Linked DNA regions of Homo sapiens: all the other regions are linked to region 6. The links are contacts of gene promoters, found by promoter capture Hi-C in blood cells and fetal thymus (Javierre and others, 2016). All regions are on one chromosome and are shown on one strand. Each heading gives the region's core, a stretch centred on a gene start or on the middle of the fragment in contact. The rest is flanking DNA. Distances are from core to core; before and after follow the strand shown.

Region 1 (2,883 bases), core at 282-2,781, 950 kb before region 6:
CTTCACTCAGATCACTGCATTCTGCCTGGGTGACAGAAGTAGACTCTGTCTCGAAAAAATAAATTAAAAATATTTTAAATCAAAAAAATTAGGCTAGGCACAGTGGCTCACGCCTGTAATCCCAGCACTTTGGGAGGCTAAAGTGGGAGAAGTGCTTGTGCCCAGGGGTTTGAGACCAGCCTGGCCAACATAGCAAGACTTCATCTCTACAAAAAAGAAAAATTTTTAAAAGTTTAAAAACGAAAGCAAAGTGACACTCTTTAAAATATAGAATATAATTGTAATTCAGGACTAACTAGTTCTACCTATTAACAGAGTACGCCAAGCTCACAAAACAATAATAAACAACAAGGATGATGACCACCATTCTTTCCAAGTAAAGCTGCTGCTGATCTCCTGTTTATAAGGCTCCAAGATGATTTTCAAGCACAAGAAACACCCTGTATTTGACTCATTCAGCTACAGTTTCACTCAGACCCTAATGGGGAGGAGGGAGTTTTAAGACAAGCAATAGCATTCTGAATTCCACCAACAACTCTACCATGCCTTACTTGCTATGTGGTTGTGGCTAAGTGTCTTAGCTTCCCTGTGTACCAGATTTGTTCAAGAGCAGCTAAGTAGGGAAGGAAAACAAAAGCCTCATCTGCCTGAAATCCAAAAATACACCCCAATTATTTGTTACAAAAGACAAAATAATGTAAATTGAAATGCTGTTGGTGAATTCTCTTTATTAAAATGAAGTCATCCCACCTTTCAAATACCAGTCATTGTGTCTGATTTCCGAATTCATTACAGGAAGAACTGTGTATGAAGTCACCCAAACACATGCACTCTCCACTTCCCTTAATTGAAAGTTGCTGATTTCCGAGGAGCCAGGGGCTGAGCAGAATGTAAACCTAAAGGCTAAATCAGTAAACAACCCCATCCAAACTGGTCTAAGAGGAAAGCGAGGTGGGTGGGGAGGAAGGTGGGTGACAGGAGAAACTCGGCTGACCACTGCGCCAAGTCAACGCACTCACAGCTCTCGAGGTGACACACACTCCCCTTCCCACCCTCGGGCTGTCAAGTCGGCTGTTTTGGTCCCAGCACCGTGGGGGCAGAACTCCAGAGAAGCAGCTCAAGCTTCAGCTGGGGCCGGGGACCCTCGGGCAACCCGGGCCTGACAGATTGGGGGATGGCAGCCCACCGCCCCCAGGGTGGACAGCCCGAGACAGCCCCAGGTGTGGCCTCGGCCGTAGCCCCAGCCGGGCCCTGCGTCCCGGCAGCCTCACCCAGGCCTGTCCCCGGGACAGCTCCCGCCCCCCAGCTCGGTACCCCGGCTCACTGGCTTGGCTGATCCGCTGGATGTTGCCGCTGCACGTCTGGATGATGCTGCTGAAGTCCCGGAGCTGGGGCCCCGAGGGCCCCGGGTTCCGGTACATGTCTAAGGGACCGTATGACATGACGAGGAGCTGAGACCTGCTCGCTCTACACCGCTCTCCTACCGGAAGCAGCCGCCAGCCGGGACCCGCAGGCTGACGGAGAAACTGGGAAGAGCAAGGGCGGGGAAGGAGCTAAGGCTGCGTGCGCACTAGCCCCGCCCTCACGCGGCGCGCACGCGTCCTCCCCGCCCCGGTCCAAAGTGCGCAGGCGCCGCTGGGACTGGAGCTGGGACTGGAGCTGGGACTGTAGCTTAGAGACAGGACTCCCCGAGGCTTGGGGATGCAGGGCGGGGAGATGACGTCACCTAGTTGGGGCTGAGATTGGATGAGCTTGGGTGGAGGTGTTGTTTCTCGCCAGGGCACAGTGACAAGAGGCAAGAATTTTCGATTTGCATAAAACTGTACCAGATGATCTCAGCCCTTACATCCTATTCTGTTCTGAGAATTCAGGCCCAAATATGGGAGAATTCAACGTTGAAACTCAGACCCGGAACCAAATCGTAACCCGAAATTCCTCTCTACTTCCATCCCCAGGGCTTTGGTAGTGTTTGGGGTTTCCAAACCACTTTCATTTCTCCCTCCACCCCTCTTCTAATCTAAACAATAAAATAATGTTTATTGAGCACATACTATGTGAATCCTCACCGCAATTCACTTGTTCATAAGATTTTTCACAGCAGGGGACGATGCTCTATCTATATTTTTATCATTAGAATAGATAACGGAGAGTCGGTTTTTTAAATGTTGAAGTAAAGTAATTCATCAAAGTAAGCATTATTATTTTCCCTCTTACCGATGAGAAAATTAAGACCAGCGAGGTTAGTTCGCCTTGCTGAAATTTGACTGCAAAACCCAAACGCTAAGCTGACTCTCTCCTCACCTCGCTACTTCTCTAAAATTCATTCTCGTCTAAATCTCTCCCAAATAGCTCGTTCATCTATATCCCAAGCCGGGATATCTTGGAGAACTAGATTCCTAAAATTTAAAAATCGTTCCCTTAAGTAATTTGGAATGCATGACCTCAATGTTCCCACAGAAAACTGCATTTTTGTAAGCCTATGTTAAAAGGAAAGACATAGGATTTTGGTTTGGGAGGAGATCAAGATAGTGAGAAGTGAAGGGGAACTGGCTGCGTTTCCTGTGTTCTACACCCCACCCCACCCCACCCCAGCCTGCTTTGTAGTCTTTGGAAAATGCAAAGACAGAAAGCTGCTTGCCTGGATGAAAGGAGACCCAAAGTGAATGAGCCTGTATATGGCCTTAGGATTTTTTCTTTATTTTATTTTTTTTGAGACAGGGTCCCGCTCTGTCACGCAGGTTGGAGTGCAGTGGCGCGATCTCTGCTCACTGCATCCTCCTTCTCCTGGGCTCAGGAGGTCCTACCACCTAACCTCTGAGTAGCTAGGATTACAGGCGTGCGCCACCACGCCCAGCTAATTTTTATATTTTTTGTAGTGTTGGG
Region 2 (3,116 bases), core at 32-2,531, 710 kb after region 6:
TTTTTCCTAGTCATAAGACAGCTGGAGTAAACAATATCTATTTAGTTCTAGGTCATTTTTGCCAACAAAGATCCTGCATATCAAGGGGCTCTCTGACAGAGTTCTTGGGAATTCAACTTACTGAACGGTTTAAAGGCGAGGGCAAAGGCCCTGCACAGAAATGCTCATGTGTTGAATGGAGAAAGTCTAAAGTGGGCTTCCTCAGCGCCCAAAGAATTTCTAGATTATAACCAACTTCATGAACGAATTCTCATTTGTAGATTGTGACCACGGGCTAGAAAAGTAACCTGAGATTGTACAATATTTATTCTGTACAGCTGGGGAAGCAAAAGGCTACTGACCCTAGAGCCTGAGAAGTTGGGATCCACTGCTTTAAGTCTACAGGATAGATTTAATAAAAAGAAATGACTTCTGAGATTGTGTTCAGTCCCACTTCCTCTAACTGGACACCCACCCTTCAAATCGCTACTGAATTTCCTAGTGTCTAATTTCCTGCCACAGAATCCTCTGCGCCGGCTGCACAGCAGACGAGCTTTCCTGCTCTACGGGGATCGCCAATCACATCCACTCAAGGTGGTTCGTGTCTCTGAAGCAGTGCCATGTCCTCTCCAGCCTGGTACAGTCCCCATGGGGAAGAGCACCTTCCTGAATAGGGAGGAGAGAGGTGTTTATGAAACCCGTGGGATCCCGGATCCAATGATGCATCCGATGCGAACCTAAGTGACTTTCGACCGAAAGTGGCGGGCCCTCGCTCCCGCTGCTCTAACCAGGCGCTGGGACGCGAGCCGGCCAGGCCAGACACCTGCCGGCGCCCGGGAAGGGCCAGTCGCGGCCAGAGGTGTTGCCCGACGCGGCGGCTCAGGCCGCGCTCATTGGCCAAGTGTCAGGCCCTCCCCCTCCTCGGCCGTGCTCAGATGAAGCCCGGAGGGGAGCCTCCTGAGCCCCTTCGCTCTGAGGAGCCAGCCCTGCAGTTGCCTCAACTCCTCGGGGCTGGGGGCTGAGGGCCGGGGGGAGGTGGCCCCGGTATGAGAGGAGGCCGCGACTGGGGTCGGTGGCCTGAGGAGCGCAGGGCCTTCCCCAGGATGACTCCGCTGACACGTCTGTGACAAGCCTCCCAGGGAGGGAGGCACATGCAGGGCCATCGGCTCTGCAGCAAGACCTCTCCGCCACGCCGAAAGGCCAGATTTACCTCAGGGTAGACGCTGCCGCTTCTCCCTCTCATGGGCTCTGCAGGCCGCCATTATCGGGCAGCTCGCGCCTCCGCTGCCGCCGCCTCCAGTCAGCAGCCGGCGCGCGCCCCCGTGGTGCGCGCGGACACACCCCCTTACGCCGACGGCCCCGCCCCCCTCCGGCTTTCCGTAGCGCGAGCCGGGACGTTCCGCGCCACCGACGAGGCGCGCGGCCGGCGCTCCGCTCGCCTCCTCCCTCTCTCGAGGATTTGCAGAGCCGGGAGTCGTCGGAGGTGTGCGCGCTCCGGAGCGCACCACTGGTGCTGCTCCCCGCAGGGGTGGCCGGGCTCGGGAACCGCGAGGCCACGCCACGCCGGGGCTCGGCCACCCTCCAGCCGCAGCGGGCGCTCAGGGCCCGCGGCCCCGGGGACCGTCTGCAGCGGCAGGTCCGGGCCTGGGGCTGCGCGCGCCCGGCCGCGGCCTCCCCTCCCTCTACCCGCCCCCTTCCGACCTACCGAGCTGCGGGCTGGGGTGCGGGGCTCGCTGGGGTGGAACGCCCGGTGCATCTTCCGCGCGGGTCTCGGGTGCCTGCGGGGCGCGGTGCTCTTTGGCGGGCCTGCGGGGAGGTGCGGCCCGACCAAGGAGGCCTGGCGTCCGCCCCGCCGGGAGGGAGACTGCAGCTTTTCTCCGAGTCACTGAGCCATGTTTGCGGGCGGTGCAGTTGCGGAGACGGCGGCGGCGGCGGCGGCGCGGGGCTGGGTGCGATCATCTGGGAGGATGCCGTCCCCTGCCCCGCCGGCGCGGTGGTATCTCCCTTAAAGAGGCCGGCGCCTCATTGTTCCCCGGCTGCGGCCGCAGGGAGCCAGGGCCACCTCCTCGGCGTGGGGAGTGAGGGCGCGGAGGCGCCTGCACCTGGCTGCGGTGCCCACGGCGCCCCCCCGCGAGGCTCCTGGTGGAGGGTTGGTCTGCAGTCGGCGCAGGGGAGAGGCCTTGGTCCGAGCCAGGATCCACCGCGCTCCTGCCGCTCTCGGGGCTGGACAGTCAATGGGGTCCCCGCCGCTGCTGCAGTCGCTCGGCTGCCACACGCTGTTAGTCAGATCCCGCACGCTGTTGGCCCCACAGCCAGCCCGGGGTCACTTAGGACCGCATTCCTCAGTCATCCAGTTGTTAGATCAGTAAGCATCCGCCAGAAAAGTCCATTCCTTCTTACTCGATTTATTCTGCACCCATTACTTCTCAGCAGGGTGATGATTCCTCCTCCCAGCGCTCGCTCTGTAAGGCACGATGTACAAAAAATCCCTGTCGCTGTGCTCAAAGATCAACTCATTTTATTTTCTGTCCTTTATGCCCCTTCTCCCGAGAGTCTGGCACTGGGTTAGGTCTTTATATAAATGATCTTGCTTAATCCTAACCAAACCCCACAAGAGTAGGTTTTATTATCCTGTTTTTACAGGTGAGGAAACACCTCTGCCTCTTCTCACTGAAGTGTCTGTTTTGGGATGTGTCTACCTTGAATACCCATTCCTGGTGTAACACACCCTCCCCTTAAAAAAAAAAAACAACAACGGTTCTGTAATCTGTTCAGATTTTTGTCCTGAGTGCCATCCAAGTGTCAAGTCTTCAGCTGTTTGCTGGAAACACTGGTGTCAGCCAAGACTTATTTCCCGCCCTCAAAAGTAGAGGGAAAATATAGAAGGCTCTGCGTAGACAGCTAACTACCTGTGTGGGTTATTGATCCCAATCAGGGGAGGGACCTCTCTCTCGATCAAAGTAGCGTTTTCATTTTGTCTCAGTCATTAAATATCATAGGAACCCTTGCTCTTAAGTCAGCTGCAGATGAGATTTGAAATCCACTCTCGCCCCCAGTTTAGGCTCACTGTTAAGTCTGTGAGGGGGGTTTAGATCTTGTGGGACCTGAAACTTAAATAATTTGGGGTGTCCTCCTGA
Region 3 (3,275 bases), core at 190-2,689, 590 kb after region 6:
ATCGCGCCACGGCACTCCAGCCTGGGCAACAAGAGCAAAACTCCGTCTCACAAAAAAAAAAAAAAAAAAAAGAATTACAATCTAAGTGTGGAACATCATGCTTGGCAGCTGTTAAGAGAACCACATCAAGACAAGAGAGGATTTGAAGGGATACACAGACAGCTGACACAGACACACGAAGGATCTCACACCATTACACTATTTTCACCGCCTTGATCATTCATTAAACCTTGTGAAAGAGAAGCCAAATCCTTGACAAGAAGTTGCCTTTACAAAGAAAAGTCGTGAGACATACAAAACCACCAGATCACTATAAAGCAGACAAGGTTTGAGGGCAAATAAATGAGGCCTGGCTAGCTTCATCGTCCTTGTATCACCACCGCCCCCTACTTATCCCAGTGTTCAATTCATCAACCGAAATTTACTGCGTGCCTACTATGCGCCTGGCTCTGAGCCACGTGTTGGGAATGTACTGGTGTAAAGGATCGCTCTCATTAACTGAGGTGAAGTAAGCGTTGAATATACTGTTGAACAAATAAACCTGAACACACTAACTTTCAGTTCAACCAAAGCACCAGCTCCTTCTCGCTGAAGGAAGCTTCCTCACCTTCCGCCCTACTGACATTTTGGGGGATTTTTCTTTGTTGTTGGGGGCGTCCTACACACAGTAGGCTGTGTAACAGCATCCCTGGCTTCTTCGCACTAGATGCCAGTAGCAAGCCCTGGAGCTGTGACTATCAAAAGTGTTTCCAGACATCGACCAATGTCCCCAGGGAAGCAAAATCGCCCCGGCCGAGAAGTACCGGGGTAAGGCCCCGCCAAGTGCTTTCCGTCCCACAACCTTAATTCTCTACACAGCCTTCCAATCTCGGCTCAAACTTCTCCTCCTCGGGGAGGGCTCCCTGACCTCTCCGACTAGATCCGCGCCTTCTGTTTTGCGCTCTTTGTAAGATTTCTCCACTCTACCCTCACTGCGCGCCGAGGGATTACCCCGCTTAACGTCGACTCCCAGGGCTGTGCGCTCCGCAAGGGCAAGGAATGCGCCGCTCGCTGTGTCCCTGGCTATCGGCACAGGGCCTGGCACGCAGGTAAAGTGACTGCCGTGGGGTGAACCACGGACGGCAAAGCAAGGCAACGGGGGAAGCGAGGGGAATGGGACGCGAGAGGGCGTATGCCGGGGCACTGGCTTCGGAGCCGAGGCGCATGCGCTTCGCTCTCCCCGGCCCCTCACGGTGGCAGGTCGCGAGCGTCTGAGGCTTCGCCGGAGCTATGGGAGGAGAGGCAAGGTCGGCCACTAGGACTGAGGCTCCCGAAGGAGGAAAACTTACACGGGCCTGAAAGCGGGCGGCGAAATCCCTCACTCGGGAAGACTGACTGCAGCCACCACGTCTGCGGTGAGCGGTGGTTCCCTCCCTCAGCTCCTCTAACGGCCGTTGCACGCCCGCCAGGCCGCGCGCCACAGAACGCGCGTCGTTTGGCCCCACCCCGTTCTGCCGCCTCTGGCCAATCGGGAGTCGAGCCGCGCCGGCTTCCCGCCCCTTTCTATCCTCTTCTGACCAATCGGCAGCCGAGCCGCGTCGGTATCCCGCCCCCACACGCTACCCTCTGCTCAGAGAGCCGGACGGATCTTTCTGCGCATGACCACGTCGCCACTTGGCTCCTTCTCTGCCCCTTGCCGCGTTTTACCTGTAGGTGGAGCTCTGCTCACCTAGACCTGGAGGGGCCCTGCTGGGCCTGTGCAGGTTGGGAAGCTGGCGGCCCGCGGGCGGGGCTGGGGACACGAGAATCCCACTCAGCTTGCCTCACCCTCCTTCCATTCCAACGCCGGTCTATCAGTTCTCACACCTGAAGCAGGGGTTCAGGTTGTGACCAGGAGTTAGGGTGTGGCCTGGGTCACTGACTAGTCAGGGTCAAGGCTTGGTCTGGGTTGGACGCAGTGGTCAGCCTGTGACCAAGGTTCAGGTTGAAGGGTAAAGGATCAGTCCTGCCTCCCTCCCCAAACTTGGTCCACAGGAAAAGGAACTGTTAAGTCCATTTGCATTAATATGCGCTTGAAGAGTCAGACAGGAAAATTGTTTGAAAGGAGAACAGAACCATCAGCCAAAGGAATGAATCTCAGATAGTGAAATTCTGGGTATCTAGAAACCTGACTTGGCAGGGAGAGATACTAAAAAATTGTATAGGAGGCCGGGCGCGGTGGCTCATGCCTGTAATCCCAGCACTTTGGGAGACAGAGGAGGGCGGATCACGAGGTCAGGAGATCGAGACCATCCTGGCCAATATGGTGAAACCCCGTCTCTACTAAAAATACAAAAATTAGCTGGGTGTGGTGGCGCATACCTGTAATCCCAGCTACTCGGGAGGCTGAGGCAGCAGAATCGCCTGAACCAGGGAGCCGGAGGTTGCAGTGAGCCGAGATCGTGCCCCTGCACTCCAAAAAAAAGTTGTATGGAAAAAAAAAGTTGTATAATTTCTTAGCTTTAAGAGCCAGACAAAGTGAGTTCATTACTGAATAAAAGTCACTCTAGAGGAAAGACCCTAGGGATGTGCCCCAAGGTTGTATCCTTTGTCCTCTCTTTTAGTATTTTAAGATAAGAATATAGAAGACATAAAATAGCAGATTTAATGGATAATGAAAATGAACCTGGGTATGATATGAAATTAGGACCAGAAGCCTCTGTTAACGTAAAGGCTAAAAAAAAAAATGTTAAGACAGGGTGTCTAAATGAATAAATTTATGGACTGAAGGGTAGAAAGCTAGAAAGTGTTAGTCCTGGCCGGGCACGGTGGCTCACGCCTGTAATCCCAGCACTTTGGGAGGCCCAGGCAGGTGGATCACTTGAGGTCGGGAGTTTGAGACCAGCCTGTGGCCAACATGATAAAACCCTACTAAAAATACAAAATTAGCCAGGTGTGGTGGTGGGCACCTGTAATCCCAGCTACTGGGGAAGCTGGGGCAAGAGAATCACTTGAACTCAGGAGGAGAGGTTGCAGTGAGCCAAGATCACTGCACTCCAGCCTGGGCAACAGAGCGAGGTTCTGAAAGAAAGAAGGAAAGAAGGAAAGACGGAAGGAAAGAAGGAAAGAAAGAAAAAGAAAGAAAGAAAGAGAAAGAAGAGTCAGAAAACATTGAAAGGCTTCCATTTCTTTTGTGAAAGGCATATGTGAGGAGGGAGGGAACAGGGGCATCTAGAGGACTGAGAAGAATTAGGAAGATGTGAATTGCTGATACAGAGGATAGAAGAGAAATCCGACTGGAAACATAGTGGAAGTGT
Region 4 (3,077 bases), core at 449-2,948, 670 kb after region 6:
GGGGATATAACCACAGGGTAGGAGCCTCCAGTAATTGCAGCCAACTGCCCTGCCCAGGCCCAGCAGGGCCATCGGGGCAGGAGAGGGAGGTGGTCCCCAGGCCCTATCAGCTACTGCCAGCTACTCTGCCCCTGCCAAGGGGATCGCAGAATGCCAAACTGTAAACATCACCTTGTTTAACCTTTGCATTTCCATTTCATGAAGAGGAAACTGGCTTGGAGAGGAGGGGGGCTTGCTCAGGTCCTATTGAGAGTTAGGAGCCAGGACTGGAACCCAGGTTTCTTTTTTTTTTTTCTTTAGACGGAGTCTTGCTTTGTCACCCAGGTTTCTTGCCTTGCAGTTCAGATTGGATCTCTCACTTGCCTATCAGAACTTCCCACTGAGGCCAGGCGCGATGGCTCATGCCTGTAATCCCAGCACTTTGGGAGGCCGAGGTGGGTGAATTACCTTAGGTGAGGAGTTCCAGACCAGCCTGGCCAACATGGCAAAACCCCATCTCTACTGAAAATACAAAAATTAGCCAGGCGGGGTGGCGCACACCTGTAATCCCAGCTACTTGGGAAGCTGAGGCAGGAGAATCGCTTGAAGCTGGGAGGCGGAGGTTGCAGTGAGCCGAGATCGCGCACCACTGCACTCCAGCCTGGGCAACAGAGCGAGACTCCGTCTCAAAAAAAAAAAAAGAAAAAAAAAAAGAACTCACTGATATTTTGCGTGTATTCCCGCTGCTATAAAACCAAGCAATTTCCGTTAGAAATGGGCCCCTTGCCTCACTAAAAAGTTCCTTCCACTAATTCTTCCTAATAACCTGCGCTCCCACTCCCAGAAATTTGCCCCCAGGGTCCTTGTCCCTTTTTTATCCTAAGACCTCATGACCCTTTTCCACCTCCCTTCTGCTGGGGCAAGGAGCGAGGAGGGGTTGTAAATCAAGAGCTGACAGTTCTCTTGGCAGTAACAGAATGGGCCACCCACATGGCCCTGCACACCCGACCCCACCCCTATCTTCCCCTACTCCCCCTGAGTCCTGGAGGCTGAGGGACCTTGGATCTGGGGACAACAAAGGAACAGAATTAGCCAGGGAAGTGGGGAAGGAGTCTGTGAGAGGCCTTGGGGCAGAGACCCTGCCAGGTCCAGCCCACCCCTGCACCCAGCATCTAGTGTGTAGTCAGTCTGCTCATAGGTAGTTGAGGCCTGGGAACCAAGGAGAGTCTGGCAGTGTCCCCCTCCCTGTCTCCCAGGGAGTCTCCTTGGCAGTGGGTCAGATTCCAAGGTCCCAGGAAGGCACTGCTTGTCTGACCCCATGGGTGCCCTCTGTCCTCTCCTCTTCTCCCCAGCCCTGAGCAGGGAGACTATAAAAAGTTCCTAATCACAAGGACCAAAATAGTCTGTCATCCACAGCCTCTTCCCTGCCTTCTGGGCTAGCCTGGAGGCCGGACCTCAGACATCCCGCCCTAGAAGCCTGGCAGGCAGCCTCGGGCCCTCCATTCCTTTGCCTGCCTTCTCCCAGTCCTGAAACTTGTGGTCTCAACTCTGCCCAAGGCTTCTGCTCTGGGCATGGGCCATCTTTTAGGCTCACTAGTTTGGCACCAGTCTCCCTGCCCTCAGGCCCCTGGGTTCCTTCTTACCCCAGCCCTGGGCTCAGGGTACACTCACCTCTGCATGGGAGGCCTAATTGCAGGGGTCCTTGGGCAGGTCCAGACTGAGGGCAGGAGTGGACAGCAAGGACTAGAAGTAACTTTGGTGGCAGCCAAACCTCACTCTCCACAGGAAAAGCAGAGAAAGCCTCCACCCCCCGCCCCCCAAATTAACCCTCGCCTTCCTGAGGCAGATCCTGGCCTCCATTAACTCTTTCCTGATCACAGTCCTGCGCTGTGGAGACCTGTGAACCAAGTCCAGCTCCTTTTATTTTACAGATGGTCAAACAGTCCCAGCCCGGTTAGGTGATTGGCTGTGGAAGCACTGTGAGCTTGGGCAGAGCCAGGACTCCAAACAAGGCCTCCTGATCCCCAGGCTTCCTCCAAAGGCCTGGGGTGGGGGCTCCGTATGTGGGATCAGCCCCCTCCCTGGGCTGTGGCAGATGCTCTGACAGTCTGAATGGGAAGGCAGAACAGGGTTCTAGTCAACTTGCTTTTTTCCCTCTGTAGCAGGCTGAGACCTGTCTTGGTCTGGGTGCTGGGTGGTGTCAAGCCTGCTTTCCCTGGGGGCGAGACCAGGAATCTGCAGCCTAAGGGTGGGGGCATTGGTGCTATAGATGTGCAGGTGAGCCTGTGGCGGCAAGTCTTGTCATGAAGGTGACCCTGGAGCCCACTGGAGCTGCCTCTGCCAAGGTCCTTTCATGGCAGATGGGATTGCCTGGGAAGACAGTGATGAGGGGCTGATTCCAGGGCCAAGCCCAGGTCCTTTGGCCCGCTTCCTTCTCTGCCCACACTTGGAGCCTCTTAGAGCTTCTTCCATCAGAGTTTCTTCTCTGACACCTTATGTCTCAAGGTGAAACCCTACCTCATAGGAGACACCTCCCCTCTCCCCAGCAGGCAAACTAAACTCTCCAGCCCAGACTAAGACCAGTGCTCAGGCCAAAGGTTCCTTTCCCCCCTTGGCTGGCCACCTTCCCCAAGTCCCTCCTCCTCCTTTCTAGCCCTCTTTCATGTTTGCAAAGCACATTCCCGTCTGTGCTCTCTGATCTCCTTTGACCGCCCCCAAACAAGGACCCTAGACAGGCGTCCAGCAGGAATGACCCCCCACTTAATGAGTAAGGAAACAGGAGCTGAGGGGGGAGAGAGATGCCCAAAGCCCAGCTCCAAATCCACATTTGGAACTGCATCCTCTGCCTGTCAAGTCAGTAGTGGGTCTGAAAACCCAAGGCCCATCTCCCGGTAAAAGGTTTTTATTACCTAAAGGGGGGATTTTGTTGGTGATAGTTCCATATTTTGTTGCTACAGCACTTTTCAAAATGCCATTAGCTGCTTTGTCATAATCCCCATGACAATCTTTGGGGGAGGTTTTATTATTTTTCACACTTACGGCTGAAGAGACTGAGGCTCAGAGAGGAGAAATGACTTATCCAAGCTCACCAAACTCTG
Region 5 (3,174 bases), core at 74-2,573, 760 kb after region 6:
CGTTGTGATGTATACTAGTTACCTGATGTATACTAGTACTCAGAAAAATGTCTGATGAATGAATAAAATTTCTGTCTTTGCCACTTATTTTCTTTCTTTTTTGTTTTGTTTTGTTTTGTTTGGAGATGGCGTTTCACTCTTGTCACCCAGGCTGGAGTGCAGTGGCGCGATCTCAGCTCACTGCAACCTCCACCTCCTGGGTTCAAGTGATTCTCCTGCTTCAGCCTCCTGAGTAGCTGGGATTACAGGCGCGTACCACCACACCCAGCTAAGTTTTGTGTTTTTAGTAGAGACAGGGTTTTACCATGTTGGCCAGGCTAGTCTCGAACTCCTGACCTCAAGTGATCCACCTGCCTCAGCCTTCCAAAGTGCTGGGATTACAGGTGTGAGACACCACGCCCGGCTGCCACTTACTTTCCAACTGACTTTGAATATAATCCTTTTCTTCTCTAGTCCCATTTCAAAATCTGTAAGATGAGGGGACTGGACTGTGTTTCAAAGGAGGCTTTTCAGCACTAAGTGAAATAAGTGGCCGAGGGATGGAGGATGGGCTGGTTGGAGTGGGGGTCTCCATCATCTCCAGCAAAATGCTGTGCTGAAGTCTGAGGCAGAGGGATGGGCTCAGAGAGAGGGGCTGCCCGACCCTTCCATCTAGGAGCTGCCCAGGACTCCAGAGGAGGGGATGGAATTGATTTAGGTCAGTGAGGGGTTGCGTGGGGCTGGGAGGGGGTTGAGGTTGGGAGGCTGAAGGAGGAGACTCCCTTCAACCTGGGAGGTGGAGGTTGCAGTGAGCAGAGATCGTGCCACTGCACAATCCTTTCTATCTCCCTTCCTGGGCTGTGAGTTTCTCGGGGCAGGGAAACAGATCACTCATCCATCTGTCACGTTGTGATGTATACTAGTTGCCTGATGTATATACTAGTACTCAGAAAAATGTCTGATGAATGAATAAAATTCATTCATCGAACATTTTCATCATAGCATTGGCTATTAACCCCTTGAATCCCCGTGGCTCACTTGCTGGGTCCCATCCCTGACCCACTAGCCTGGTGCCGGGGGGAGACCAATTTCTGGAGGAAGCTCTGGGTACCCAGTCTTGCCCTAAGCCTGCCTCTGAACAGGCTGTTCTTGTTTATGACCCCCGTCCCAGCAGAATAGTGATTGCTCATCCCTGCATGTGATTTGAGAGGGCCAGTCTTTCAGGCCTGGAGGAAACTCAAGCCCCACCAGCCGCTTGGCATCGGAATGCTCAGCTGGTCCCCTCCTGGGGCTCATGTGACCAAGATCTAGCTATAAATATCAGAGGGGCCTCAGACCAAGACAGAATTCGGGCACCAGGAGAAGGAAGCCAACAGGATCCGACCCGGTGTTTTGTGACAAAGGCAAGACCCCCAGGTCTACTTAGAGCAAAGTTAGTAGAGGAGGCAGCTAGGCGTGGCTCTCATTCCTTCCCACAGAATGGATTATAAGTCGAGCCTGATCCAGGATGGGAATCCCATGGAGAACTTGGAGAAGCAGCTGATCTGCCCTATCTGCCTGGAGATGTTTACCAAGCCAGTGGTCATCTTGCCGTGCCAGCACAACCTGTGCCGGAAGTGTGCCAATGACATCTTCCAGGTAAGTGCCGGGTGCAGCTTCATTTGGGGTCCCCAGGTGGCTACTTGGCTTCCCTGTGATGAAACCCTTCTCCCTTAGACTTCCAACCTGGACAGCCTCTTTCCCCTTGGAAGTGAACCCCTGCAGAGGCCTCTGGACAGGGCTGAGAGGGGGCTGGGAGGCGGCTCTGGCTGCTGCGGTTCTTCTCCATAACACAAGTTTCCCCTCCCTGCCCTGCCCACAGCTCCCCCACCCCTGCCCTGAGCACTGCTGTTGACTCTCCAATCAAGAGTCAAATGCCTCAAGTGATAAGCGGGGTAGGCAGGGACAGGAGAGAGAAACCAGACCCCTGGGGCTGGAGCCAGGTCCTGGTGGCAAGAGGCCCAGAGCTTTGGGAGGAGGGTGTCAGGGAGGCAGTGGGCAGTAGAGGCATCTTCCCTTTTGAGGCTGTTCCCTATGATATGGGGGCAGAAGGGGCTCCAACTCCCCGAGAAAGGAAGGGGGTAGATGTCCTGGCTGGGAGGCAGGATGCGAGGTTCCCCATGGACACTTTACAAAATGTTCTTTCACGATATTATCTTTAAAGTAGCAGCCTTAGGAGCTTGCTCTCATTGTAATACCTATTTCATAAGTGGGCAAACTGAGGCCTACACAGATAAGGTTGCTTGCCCAAAATCACTCAGAGAATAAACATGACTTGAACCCAGGTCTCCTGCCTCCCCATCCTGACGATTGCTTAGCTGCTTCTCAGGTGCTCTGTGTGTGAGGACTGGTTCTCATCACAGTCTGCAGAGCTCCAGGTTGTTAGGTTTGACGGGGGTGGTTCGGATAGGCAGAGGAAAGGATAAGAGGAGATTAGAAAAGAGAAGGGCTAAGTAGGGAGCCCAGGCCTCACCTTGACCTTTGCCACCTGCAGGCTGCAAATCCCTACTGGACCAGCCGGGGCAGCTCAGTGTCCATGTCTGGAGGCCGTTTCCGCTGCCCCACCTGCCGCCACGAGGTGATCATGGATCGTCACGGAGTGTACGGCCTGCAGAGGAACCTGCTGGTGGAGAACATCATCGACATCTACAAACAGGAGTGCTCCAGGTCGGTTCTCGTGCCTGCTGGGGGCCCGCCCTCCTTCCCAGCCATGCTGTGCCTAGATCCCCCACGCTCCTTCCCCCTCCTTCATCTGCTCAGGATCCAGGCCTCTAGCTGGACTAGCTACACAAGCCATTCAGAGACAGGACTGGAGACCCATACACCCCAACCCAGCTCTCAGGATTGCTCAGCGGATGGGAAGGGGCCCAGACATTAGGCTGCCCTTCCAGGCAATACCAAGACAGAGACTGGGGGAAAGATGAGATGTGAGAGGGAGAGAAAGGCCCTGGGGCCAGCTAAGTGGCTCTGGTCAGCAGAGAAAATGCCCGGTGAGAAACAGCCAGGTTGTCTATAAGGATAGCAACAGCTACTCTCCCGTGTGCCATGAGGAACAGCGTCAGGCACTGGGAATGCTTCATCTAAGTACCTCCCAATAACTCTGTGAATCAGGCATGACTTTATTATCCTCATTTCACAGATGAGGAAACTGAGGCT
Region 6 (2,901 bases), core at 173-2,672:
TAAAATGGAGATTATGTGTGGGCCAATCCTGGGTCACCGGGGGATATGAAGAGGACAAAAACCTAGGGGGGCAAATATGACCTGTCACACGAAAGCACTCCGAAGTCTTTCCTGAAAAACAACAAGGCACCGCAGCTGTTGCTGATGTGGAACAGGCCAGAGGGACGTTCCAGAATGTTGAGCAGGGAAAGAAAGCCAGGTGGTCAGCAGGGGGGCCAGGGGCCTGGGAGCCGGCTGGGTGGAGGCGGGCGGGATCTGAGGGAAGGACAGGAAGCTCTGGAGAACCTAAGGAAGGTTCTGGAGAAGGAAAGGGGGCCCGAGAGGCCCAAAGATTTTGAGAAAAGATGCCTTGGGGCCTAGGGTGTGCGTGGCTGAGGGGAAGCAAAAGCGGGGTTGGTGTCTGAGACTAGAGAAAAGGAGGGGACCCTGGAGGGACCCGGAGAGGGCAGCGAGGATGACTAGGATGTTTATGGTGGGTGTGCACAGCCAAAGGACACACAAGATCTAGAAGTGGTCAGGAAGGGATACAAGGGTCAGAAAGAACTTGGGGGGTTGGCAAGAGATGGTCCAGGGATGGGTGAGCAGGAGGGGCCTGTTCAAGAAGCCCTGGGGCAGGTTCTGAGAGGGCAGCGAGGATGGGGGCCGTGGAGGGGCATGGAGGCTGGTGTTCCTGGCAGTGGCAGGCAGACAGGTGCCAGGGTGGGGTCAGGGAGAATGGAGGGGCTGGGAGGGTGGAGGGCACCAGCGCGGATGGGGTACCCAAATGGACCAAGGAGGATGGGGCATCTGGCGGGGATGGGGGTGCGCAGGGGCCAGGGGGGCAGACAAGAGGCCCGAGGAGGATCCCAAAGGGGCGGGGAGGATGAGGACCAGGGAGGCGAAGGGGAAGGCACGGAGTGCCCAGCAGGGATTGGGAAGGTGGGGTGCGCGGCAGGGGGCTGGGAGGGGGCGCCGAGGCAGCGGAACTCACTCAAAGACGAAGAAGAGGCCGGTGGTGGTGAGGATGAGCAGCAGCGTGAGCGCGAAGACGCCGCCGTGGCCGGCCAGCATGAGGCGGCCGCCGCAGTAGAAGCGATTGCGACCCGGGAACACCTCCCACTTGCGCCGTGGGCGGCGGCCGAGGCTCCCGCTCCCGCTGCCGCTGCCGCTGCCGCTGCTGCTCCAGCGCGGCGGGGCGGGGGCGGCGGGCGGCGCGGGCCCGGGGCCCGGAGTCGGGGACGCGGCGGGGCCGGGACGGCGCGCCCCCGGGGAGGCGGGCAGCGGGGCGGCCCCGGGGCTGATCTGCTGGTACTCGCAGTCCTTCATGCAGCCAGCCGCGGGCCTCGGCTCCGCGCCCCGCGGGCCGGCCGGGCCACTCCGGGACCGGGCCGAGCAGCGGAGGTGGCAGCGGCGGCGCGCGCGGCGCTCGCTCGCTCACTCACTGGGGCGGCCCCGCCATCGCTCCGCCCCCGGCCCGCCGCCACCGCCCGCCGCGGCCTCCCGCCGCAGCGCCCCCTCCGCCTGGGCCCGGGATGGCGCTTGGCCGGAGGCCCAGCTCTGACCCGCGGCGGGGCCCCGCAGGTCCCCGGCCCTCCCAGTCTCCCTTTTCCCTTCTGCACAAAGAGGGGGCCAGCAGACGCGCACTCGAGGGCTCTTTCTGTTCTGCAAGCAAGCCGTTTGTTGGGCGTCCACTGTGTACCAGGCACGGTGCCAAACGCCGAGATTCAGGTGGTGGACTTCGTGATCTACTTCTGGCAGTCTGTAATTCCCCAGGCTTCGCCCATCTCTGAGGGTCGAACTGACAGGCATTTGCAGAGGCAGGCAGGCGCGGGGAGGTGGGGCACACGATTTGCTTTGAAAGCCAGGACCTCTTCTACCTTGAAGTCCAGAGTGCCCACTGGAGGTGTGTGGCACACCCTCTGGCCTCGTTCACCAAGTTCTGTGTCCTGGGCCCAGGCCCAGATTTTCCTAGGTAGCACATAATGTAGAGGGGTCATGCCTGAGGGCCCCAGTGTTTTTTCAGGAATTCTGGGAGTATTCATTTTCTACTGCTGTGTAACAAGTTACCACAAATTTAAGGCTTAAAACAAACATTATCGGCCGGGCGCGGTGTCTCACGCCTGTAATCCCAGCACTTTGGGAGGCCGAGGTGGGTGGATCACAAGGTCGAGAGAGACCATCCTGGCCAATATGGTGAAACCCCGTCTCTACTAAAAATAAAAAATTAGCTGGGCATGGTGGCACGGCATCTATAGTCCCAGCTACTCGGGAGGCTGAGGCAGGAGAATTGCTTGAACCCAGGAGGTGGAGGTTGCAGTGAGCCGAGATTGTGCCATTGCACCCGGCCTGGTGACAGAGCAAGACTCCGTCTCAAAAAAAACAAAAAACAAACGTTATCTAACAGGTTCCAGGTCAGGAGCCAGAGAACAGCTTAGCTGGGTCCTCTGCTTAGTCTCACAAGGCTGCAATCAGGCTGCATTCTCATCTGGAGACTCAGCCAGGGAAGAATCCACTTGCAAGCCCATTTGGGTTATTGGCAGAATTAACTTCCTTGCGACTGTTTAACTGAAGAGGGCCTGGGATTTTTGCTGGGTGACTGTATAACTGAGGAGGGCCTGGGATTTTTGCTGGGTGTCTGCTGGAGGCCTCTCTCAGGATCCAAAAGCCACCTGCAGTTCCTAGAGATTATCACATTTCCTTGCCATGCAGGTTTCTCCTACATAGCCACTTAGTTTCTTGAAACTGACAATGAGGGTCTCTAGCTCCAGACTATGATGATAGAGTTTTATATAACTTACTATATATGTGACAGAGTGGCATCCCATCATCATTGCCATCTCCTATGGTTAAAAGCAAAGCACAGGAGCCATCTGCACTCAAGAAAAGGGAATCACACAAGGCGTAAATACCAGGAGGCAGGAA

The links. The method cuts DNA at HindIII sites, captures the fragments that hold promoters and counts their contacts. A CHiCAGO score of 5 or more calls a contact.
Region 1: a contact is called between the fragment with the promoter of STX12 here and the fragment with the promoter of ZDHHC18 in region 6, in 2 of 17 cell types (monocytes and neutrophils). The highest score is 8.1, in monocytes.
Region 2: the fragment with the promoter of PDIK1L here is called in contact with the fragment with the promoter of ZDHHC18 in region 6 in 5 of 17 cell types (neutrophils, non-activated CD4 T cells, naive CD4 T cells and 2 more); the score reaches 7.9 in neutrophils.
Region 3: the fragment with the promoter of CEP85 here is called in contact with the fragment with the promoter of ZDHHC18 in region 6 in 4 of 17 cell types (total B cells, non-activated CD4 T cells, naive CD8 T cells and 1 more); the score reaches 11.2 in total B cells.
Region 4: the fragment with the promoter of FAM110D here is called in contact with the fragment with the promoter of ZDHHC18 in region 6 in 4 of 17 cell types (fetal thymus, naive B cells, monocytes and 1 more); the score reaches 7.4 in fetal thymus.
Region 5: a contact is called between the fragment with the promoter of TRIM63 here and the fragment with the promoter of ZDHHC18 in region 6, in 3 of 17 cell types (fetal thymus, erythroblasts and megakaryocytes). The highest score is 7.5, in fetal thymus.

The regions. Positions count from the first base shown.
Region 1 is chr1:27,771,867-27,774,749 of GRCh38, reverse strand. It overlaps STX12 (syntaxin 12), which reads right to left and starts at 1,531. Exons shown (of 9, transcript NM_177424.3): 1 at 1,325-1,531. The coding sequence starts at 1,442. RefSeq lists enhancers at 694-1,194, 1,392-1,541, 1,195-1,695, 1,662-1,811 and a silencer at 1,072-1,281. The HindIII fragment of the contact is 7,984 bases long and covers 1,125-2,883 here.
Region 2 is chr1:26,109,989-26,113,104 of GRCh38, reverse strand. It overlaps PDIK1L (PDLIM1 interacting kinase 1 like), which reads right to left and starts at 1,281. Exons shown (of 3, transcript NM_152835.5): 1 at 1,190-1,281. RefSeq lists enhancers at 518-627, 1,008-1,237 and silencers at 1,288-1,927, 1,988-2,267. The HindIII fragment of the contact is 5,419 bases long and covers 1-3,116 here.
Region 3 is chr1:26,232,364-26,235,638 of GRCh38, reverse strand. CEP85 (centrosomal protein 85) reads right to left here and starts at 1,439. Exons shown (of 14, transcript NM_001319944.2): 1 at 1,329-1,439. RefSeq lists enhancers at 571-620, 711-770, 1,091-1,240. The HindIII fragment of the contact is 7,371 bases long and covers 601-3,275 here.
Region 4 is chr1:26,157,700-26,160,776 of GRCh38, reverse strand. FAM110D (family with sequence similarity 110 member D) reads right to left here and starts at 1,698. Exons shown (of 2, transcript NM_024869.3): 1 at 1,651-1,698. The HindIII fragment of the contact is 9,541 bases long and covers 1-3,077 here.
Region 5 is chr1:26,065,779-26,068,952 of GRCh38, reverse strand. It overlaps TRIM63 (tripartite motif containing 63), which reads left to right and starts at 1,323. Exons shown (of 9, transcript NM_032588.4): 1 at 1,323-1,617; 2 at 2,513-2,685. The coding sequence starts at 1,459. The HindIII fragment of the contact is 10,936 bases long and covers 1-3,174 here.
Region 6 is chr1:26,825,209-26,828,109 of GRCh38, reverse strand. It overlaps ZDHHC18 (zDHHC palmitoyltransferase 18), which reads right to left and starts at 1,422. Exons shown (of 8, transcript NM_032283.3): 1 at 971-1,422. The coding sequence starts at 1,305. RefSeq lists silencers at 1,155-1,364, 1,375-1,524, 1,488-1,640. The HindIII fragment of the contact is 7,154 bases long and covers 1-2,901 here.